Linked DNA regions of Homo sapiens: region 1 is linked to region 2. The links are contacts of gene promoters, found by promoter capture Hi-C in human tissues and cell types (Jung and others, 2019). All regions are on one chromosome and are shown on one strand. Each heading gives the region's core, a stretch centred on a gene start or on the middle of the fragment in contact. The rest is flanking DNA. Distances are from core to core; before and after follow the strand shown.

The links. The method cuts DNA at HindIII sites, captures the fragments that hold promoters and counts their contacts. A contact is called where the count stands out against the background at its distance.
Region 1: a contact is called between a fragment that was not itself captured here and the fragment with the promoter of NBL1 in region 2, in 1 of the 25 tissues and cell types used here (pancreas).

The regions. Positions count from the first base shown.
Region 1 is chr1:18,605,511-18,609,335 of GRCh38, reverse strand. No RefSeq gene overlaps it. Among named protein-coding and RNA genes, the nearest start is that of PAX7, 23 kb to the left of the region's middle. The HindIII fragment of the contact is 8,128 bases long and covers 1-3,825 here.
Region 2 is chr1:19,641,651-19,645,587 of GRCh38, reverse strand. NBL1 (NBL1, DAN family BMP antagonist) reads right to left here and starts at 1,277. Exons shown (of 4, transcript NM_005380.8): 1 at 1,142-1,277. All of the region lies in intron 1 of MICOS10-NBL1 (MICOS10-NBL1 readthrough), which reads right to left. RefSeq lists a silencer at 1,192-1,531 and an enhancer at 1,430-2,265. The HindIII fragment of the contact is 7,978 bases long and covers 298-3,937 here.

The sequences.
Region 1 (3,825 bases), core at 1,014-3,513, 1.0 Mb after region 2:
AATCACCTGGCTGAGCCTCAGTTTCTTCACACATGTGCTTTATTTGGCTGTTGAGAGGATAAAATAACTTACAAAAGAAAGTGCAAACCACACATCAAACATTTTTAATCACCTAAAAAGAAGCAACAGAGATTAGTTTGGCTTTTGGTGTATATACCATCTTCTTCCTAAAAGAGTAAAGCATGATTAAAACAAAACAAAAATCCTATAGGCCTATTGAAAGAAGGATAAAAGAACATATAGAGTCATTAAAGATGAGAGCTGGGGAGATAAATAGTTGAATTGGAAACCAAGAATGAAAACAGCTATGGCAGTTGAGTATAAAACTTTGCTTTGAGCTTCCTGGTGGCCAAGGCAAAAAGGGAAAGAAAGTGAGTAGAATCAGTCTGATGTAGAGTATCTCAATATGGACACCGCTGACATGTTGGCCTGGACAATTCTTTGCTCTGATGGCTGTTCTCTGAATTGTAGGGTGTTTAGAACATCCCTGGTCTCTACCTATTAGGTGCCAATAGCACTCCCACTTACTCCTCTTTCTGGTTGTGACAATAAAAAATGTCTCCAGACATTGCCAAATGTCCTCTGTGAGTGAATACTGCCCCTGGTGGATAACTTATGATCTAATGAAATGAGGCAAATCTTGATGTGGGGTCTTTGGTTAAAGGACCAGGCAAGGTGACTACCAGGGCCTTCAGAGCCAGGGTCTCAAAGTCTGCAGACAAATTTTCAGGCTGTGCTGTGCCCAACCTATGATGACACCAGACCCAAGTCTGGTGATTTCTATCAGTGAAGCTCCTCTTCTCTGGGTGACGCTGTTGCTTCTCCCATCCTATGACCATCTCCTTTGGTTAAGGCCATTTCCAGGCTCTAGGCTAAGGGCCTTGTGTGCACAGCACAGGCTTTCTCTTGTCAAGTCCTCAGAGTTGGCTTTCTCTTGTCAAGTCCTCATCCTTGTAATCATTATGACGTCCATTTGACGGATGGGGAGACTGAGCTTTGGATAGGTCGAGCAGCTTGCCAAATGCCACACTCTACGTGGCAGAAGGGGATTTTGAACTGAGGTAACTTGGCCCCATACTTTTAACTACTAGAGCAATGCTTTTCAACTGGGCGATGATTTTGCCCCCCTCCCCGCCCCCCCGCCCCCCCCAGTGGACAATTGGAATACCTGGGAAAGTTGTCACAACTGCGGTTGGGGGTGCCCCTGGCATCTAGCTGGTAAGGCTAAGGCCGCCCCCCAACACGGAATTGTACCCTGCAACATCCCACCTCTCTTGAGAGTGGTCCAGAGCGAGGAGATTTGGGCCTGGCAAGATGCGGGATTCTGGAAGAGGAGGGAAGGTGGTGGACCATGGTGCCCCTGGGGTACTAACTGGGCTTGGCTGCCTTCTCCACAGCCTCTCCACCTCCTAGAAGAGAGGCCCAGGCCTGGATTTTCCCACACTGCTGCTGATGTCTGCATGGGCACGGAGAGTCCTGCTGCTGCCCAGGAACTCATCCTGAAGTTTTTAAGATTCTAGACACATTTCTTTCTTTATTTTTAGTTGATGAGGAAAAGTTGGAAGATAAATGTATAATCCTAGACCTGCAGAATTGTCAGAGGCCATTATGCTGAGCGTCACGAGGGGGGCTCTGGAGTCAGGCAGGACTCCAGGCACCAACTGCCACTACCTACCAAACGACAAGGCTGACTCTGCCTCCTCTGAGGCCACCACACTCGCTGCTCCTCCTGCTCCCTCACCTGCACTGTGAAGATAGTAATAGGACCCAGCTCACAGTGTTGTTGGAGGATTCAATGAGGTAATGCCTGTGGCAGCTCTTACCATTGTTGTTATTACCAGAATTAGGAATATCTCTAGAGCTGATCTCATCCAATCCCTTGGTTGACAGGTGAGGAAAAATGAGGCCCACAGAGGCGCGACAGGCAAACACCCAGCGGGGCAGGTGCTGGGACCCCTCTGCCAGCCCAGAGCTTGCTGCAGGACCCATTCCAGAAAGAGGAGGAATTCCCAGCTGAGGTAGGAGCTGATGTGGAAACCCCTTCTCCAGCCTTTCCCTCCCTGAACCAATTTGTAATTAATGGCTTGTGGCCACGTTTCTCCCCGCCTCCAGGGCAGACTTGTAAAACCTGTAGGAGAAGCTGCTGTGGGCAGGGTAGCTGGCTAGGCAGCCAGCTTCTCTGTTCCAGCCCCTTTGTCCCTTTGCTCCTGCAGGAGGGGGGATGGCGCCGCCTCCTCATCCCTGGCGCCCCACTCCGTCCCCTTCCTGCAGGCCAGCAATCCACGGTTGTCCAGGCTGTAATTTGTGGCTGGTGCTGAGGCTGTGCTGGGGTGCGGTGCCCCTCTGGGGATGGGGAGACACAGCAGGCAGGGCCTCTTCCTGCAGTGCTCCCAGCAGCCCTCTGAAGAGTTCAGGAGGTGCCAGGTGCAGGTGCACGGGGTGCACGATGACCAAGAGGAACAAGGATGATGGTGGTGCCAGGCCCAGCCAGGGTACAAAGCCTGAAAGCTTAGCCGCTTCCCCTACTCCTCCCCCGGCCCCGTGGGCGATGCCAAGGCAGCTGGAGTTCCGGGAGTTGGGGGCATCTCTGCCATAGCTGCTGACTTTGGCAAAAAAGAAATCCTCCTCCTTAATACCCTCTCCCTCCAGAATGACAGGGGGTTTGAAGTTGGCGGTGGAAAGGGAAGACAATCTTGTTACTAATGTACCATAAAGTACAATAAATATTCTGCTGACAGACTCCGAACCCAGGAAACAATTCTGAAATCCTCAAATGATAATAATAATATAAACAGAAGCCAAACCTTCCTGAAGCCTCTTTCTTCTTTGGTAAAATTTTATTACGATGGGAAGTGAAGTCACGCTCCCTCCTCCACCCCCACCCCTCCTGCTTCTTCCAACCTGGCACCTCTCTTTTGGGTCAAGGTCTTCCTCCTTGGCTGGGATTTTACAACTTTGAGGCCAGGGCACCTACAAGTGGGTTGGGACAGGGTGCCCTTGTCTGGAACCCTCCTGAAGGCATGCATGGGGCTTTCTCGAAGCTGGCCAAATACCTCCCAGTCCCCGTCTCTCTCTTTCTGCCCCCCATAAGCACACTTGCCTTCAAAATGGGTCTCCATTTTTTCATTAAATCCAGGAGTTGATAGGGAGGGATTGACCTGGCTACTTCAATTAATTTTTTTTTTACCTTTCAAATCATAAGGTTCCATTTCCTTTGGAGGAGGCGGTGTGTTGCAGGGTGCTGCAGAGTTTAAAACGTAGGGCTGTATTTGAATGTTTGGTCTTGATAGGCGATAGGGACCAGCATGGAAAATCATCTTTATCACCCCAATATGGAAGGTAAAGCGTGCGGCCTGGGCTGGCATACCAAGCGGCCTGTGAGCCCTTATCGTAATCCCAGGAGCCGCCCCCCTCTCCATCACCTCTGCTATTCCAGGCAAGTGTCAGACCGTCTTCCCTGCTGTACAGAGCCAGATAGCACCGAGCTGGGCCGGCGCAGCGGGCATAATAAGAAGTGGAAATTGCTCCCAAGGAAAGTTTCTGAGGAATTAACTTCTGATGGGTGAAGGGGGCAGTGTGGGGGTGGGCAGGTGGGGAGGGGTAAGGGAGCCGAAGGAGGAAGGTGAGGACCTGGGCCAAGACAAGGACGCCAGCAGTCTCCGAGGAAGGAGGCAGAGACCTTAGAGAGACTTTCAGAAAGGCTGTATTGCTCCCATTGGGAAAGGCAGGTGGGCCCACAACTGCTGTGGCCGGCAGAGAGAGCTCTGGGACCCAGGAGGGCCCTAGAGACCCCCAGCTCCCTGAGGGGATGAAGGATCTGAATGC
Region 2 (3,937 bases), core at 28-2,527:
TCCTTGTTGACAAATTGCTTCCCCGCCAGCGCCCGGTCTTTGGCCTCCAGCCCTGACCTCTGTTTTCCTGGGGTGCCCCTAGTTACAGGCTGGTGGCGTCCAGCTTGGGGAGCGAGGGCCTCCGAAAGCCTGGAAGTGTGGCTTTCTCCCTTGATGCCCGCCAACCTCCGGCCACGCCAAGGCAGGCGGCTGCCCCCTTTGCCGCCGCTTGTAAACGATCAGAATCGCCCCGCCCTGGGAGCGGGCCGGGCAGGTGGCCCGCAGCAGGGCCTGTCGTCCAGCCGGCCTCGCGGGGGTGGAATTCTTAAGAAAACTGAGCCCCCGGAAAGGCTGGCTCTCCCTGCCCCAGACTCAATTCCAGGGAGATGACCCGGGCCAGGCCTCGGGGCCGGCGGGAGGCAGGGGGAGGGTTTGCCGCACCCGGTCTAGGAAACTATTCGTGAACCCCGCTGGGGGAAGGCGAGCCTCCGACACTGGGGGATTGTCTGGATCGGAGGGCGGGGGATCAGGGAGAGGCGCAGACACAGGGCGAGACCCCCACAGAGGGCAGCGCAGAGACAGAGAGAGGGAGAGAAAAGCCAGAGGCAGAGACACAAACGCGGGCAGCCGAACACGGAGGCAGGCGGGGAACGGAAAGAGACGGGCAGACCAGGGGAAAGTGAGCGGCGGAAACGGAGCGACGGAGAGACAGACACACGGACGTGGGGACCGAAGCAGAGGGGGCCGCGGGAGGCGGAAACGTCCAGAGCCGAGAGGCGCGGCGCGGCGAGGCCCGGGCACGGCCGGGGGACATGCGAGCCCGGCCCGCCCGGCCACGCATCTCCCTCCCTCGCTCCCTCTCTCCCCCGGCCGCGGAAACTCCGATCCAGAAACGGAACCCTGGGGCGAGTCTGGGGACGGGCTCCGGACGCGGCGGTGCCCCCCGGCCACCCCGTGCCGCGCCCACGTCCCCAGCGCCGGCGTCCGGAGGCGCCCGCCAGGTCCCCCAGGGCTCCTGAGCTCGGCGGCGGCGCCTCCACCCGGTGCCCGCGGCCGCCGGACGCGCCGGGGGACGCAGCTCCGGGCTGGGGGCGCGGCACTGCCCCCGCGGCCGAAGCCTCTGGAAGCCGGGCGCCCGCGTGCCGACCCGGGCGGGACTTACCGCGCGCGCCCGCCGGTCCTGCGGAGCTGGGTGCGGGGGTCGCGGGCCCGGGCGCCCCAGGAGGCTCGGCGAGGCGGCCGGCAGGGCGGGGGGCGGCCCCGCGACGCTCGGCTGGGCTGCGCTGCGCGCTGTCTGCGGCCCCGGGCGGGCGCGCGGCGCGGGGGAGCGGCTCCGACGTCAGGGTGGCTCCCTCCAAACAGGGCGCGAGGGCGGGGGCAGCGGGGAGGGCCGCGCGCAGAAAGAGCGGGCGGGCGCGCGCGGCCTCTCCCTCCGGGTGCGCAGGAGGGGGCGCCGCGGCGGCAGGGGCCCCGGGCCCTCTCCTGGCCCGCCCGCCCCGGGCTGAGCTTCGGCGCGCTCCGACGGCGTGGTGGGGCGGCCGGGACGCCTGGCCGGCGCCCGAGAGGCAGGGCAGCCCAGCCGGGCGCCCTGGCCCGTTCTTAAGCGCCCTCCCCGGGTTTCTCTGCGCTTCCACTCTCTCCGCCCGACTTTTACCGAGCCTGGGCCGTCAGGCCGTGCCAGGCCTCGGGGTGACAAAGATGGATGTGTCCTTTTTGTGGGCACCGGGCATTGCAGACTTGCCCCGAGAGTGGGGCGCCCCAGCCCGCCGCGTCCCGGCACCAGGAGTCCCCAGTTCTGCGGTGCACCTCATCCCGTCCGCTCCGGCATGCGACCCGGTTCAAGTCCGTGCTGTTGGTAGCCTGGGTTGCTCAGCCTTGCCTAGTGTTATCCTAGTGTCGCTCTCGGCCCCACGCCCTTGGCTTAAGCATCCCGAAAAGCCCCAGGGACTTATTAGGAACTAAAAAGCCAGCAAATGAACTCACTTCTCTGACTCCTGGGAAGAGTGGAGCTCCTGGCCCCAGCTTCCAGCCTCACCTCGGGGGTTCCTATCTAATCAGTGGGCACTTGGGTGGATTGCGGCCGTACCTTCTCTATTCTGTGTGCTTAACAACGGGGTGAGAAAATAACTTTGCTTCTGGAAAGTGGTGGCCCAGGGACACCACTGGGACACGATTGTAGGACTTGGGGATTTTGCTTTACAGCATAGTTACCTGTGTCCATGTGTTTTACCTAGCTTGGCTGGAAACTTCCAGATAGACACAGCCCTGCTTGTCTGACTCATGAGGTTGCCGGGCATCCTGGGTGGCTCCTAGTGGCCTGCTGGGAACTCCCTGGTGTACTCCAGCCTACTCGCACCCTCCACACCCAGCCTGCATCTGCGCCTCCTAGCTGTTGCCTGCGCCCTTCCCTCTGCCCGGAATTCCCTTCCCCTCCTTTCATCTCTGGCAAACATTCTTCCAGCTCCAGATTGGAAAGCCTTCCCAAGACCCTTTGGGAGCATCTCCCTCCTCCAGTGTGATCCTGGAGCACAGGATGAGAACTTCTGTTCATGTCAATTTCCCTCTAGAATAACTGTGTACATCTCTTGGGCAAACATTCTTCCAGCTCCAGATTGGAAAGCCTTCCCAAGACCCTCTGGGAGCATCTCCCTCCTCCAGTGTGATCCTGGAGCACAGGATGAGAACTTCTGTTCATGTCAATTTCCCTCTAGAATAGCTGTGTACATCTCTTTCCTCCATTAGACCTTGAGGGCAGGAATCGTGTTTATTTCAGTGTCTCCATTGCTTATGGGCAGGCCAGGTGAGATGTACAATGTATTTGGTTGAATGAAGTTGTTGTTGTTGTTGTTGTTGTTGTTATTATTATTATTATTAGAGACAGAATTTTGCTCTTGTTGCCCTGGCTGAAATGCAATGGCGTGATCTCGGCTCACTGCAACCTCTGCCTCCCAGGTTCCAGCAATTCTCAGCCTCCCGAGTAGCTGGGATTACAGACGCCCACCACCACGCCCAGCTAGTTTTTGTATTTTTAGTAGAGATGGGGTTTTGCCATGTTGCCCAGGCTGGTCTCCAACTCCTGGCCTCAAGTGATCCTCCCGCCTCAGCCTCCCAAAGTGTTGGGATTATAGGCATGAACCACCACGCCCAGCGAATAAAGTAATTATTATCCCCCATTAATGTAGCACAGATAGGTCTTCCCTTAATGGTAACTATGACCGTTATAATAGTTCACACATATTGAGCACCTTACCATGTGCCTCATCCCATTGCAAGCTGTTGCCACTCTCACAATAAACCTATGAGGTAAGTATTGTCTCTGTTTTAAAAGTGCCAGGCGCAGTGGCTCATGCTTGTAATCCCAGCACTTTGGGAGGCCAAGGCAGGAGGATCACTTGAGGTCAGGAGTTCGAGACCAGCCTGGCCAATATGGCGAAACCCTCTCTCTACTAAAAATACAAAAATCAGCCAGGTGTGGTGGCGTGTGCCTGTAGTCCCAGCTACTCGGGAGGCTGAGGCAGGAGAATCACTTGAACCTGAGAGGCGGAGGTTGCAGTGAGCCGAGATCGCACCACTGCACTCCAGCCTGGGAGGCAGAGTGAGACTCCATCTCAAATAAATAAATAAATAAACAAACAAACAAATAAAATAATAAAAGTGAAAAAAATCCCGAGGCTGGAGGATCACTTGATCCCAGGAGTTTGAGGCTGCAGTGAGCTATGATTGTGCCACTGTACTCCAGCCTGGACAACATTGCAGAAGGCTAATTGTGGAACCTAATGAGCTTGTCACTCCAGCAAGGCCTTGTCTCAAAAAAAAAAAAAAAAAGTGAAAAAAGGAACGTCAAGAGAAAGGTTAAGTAACTCGCCTAAAGTCACACAGTAAGAGCCCATGCCAGCTAGTGTCTGTTGGATAACTATATACCATGTACGGCAGAAACCAGCCTCACTGCACTGTACAC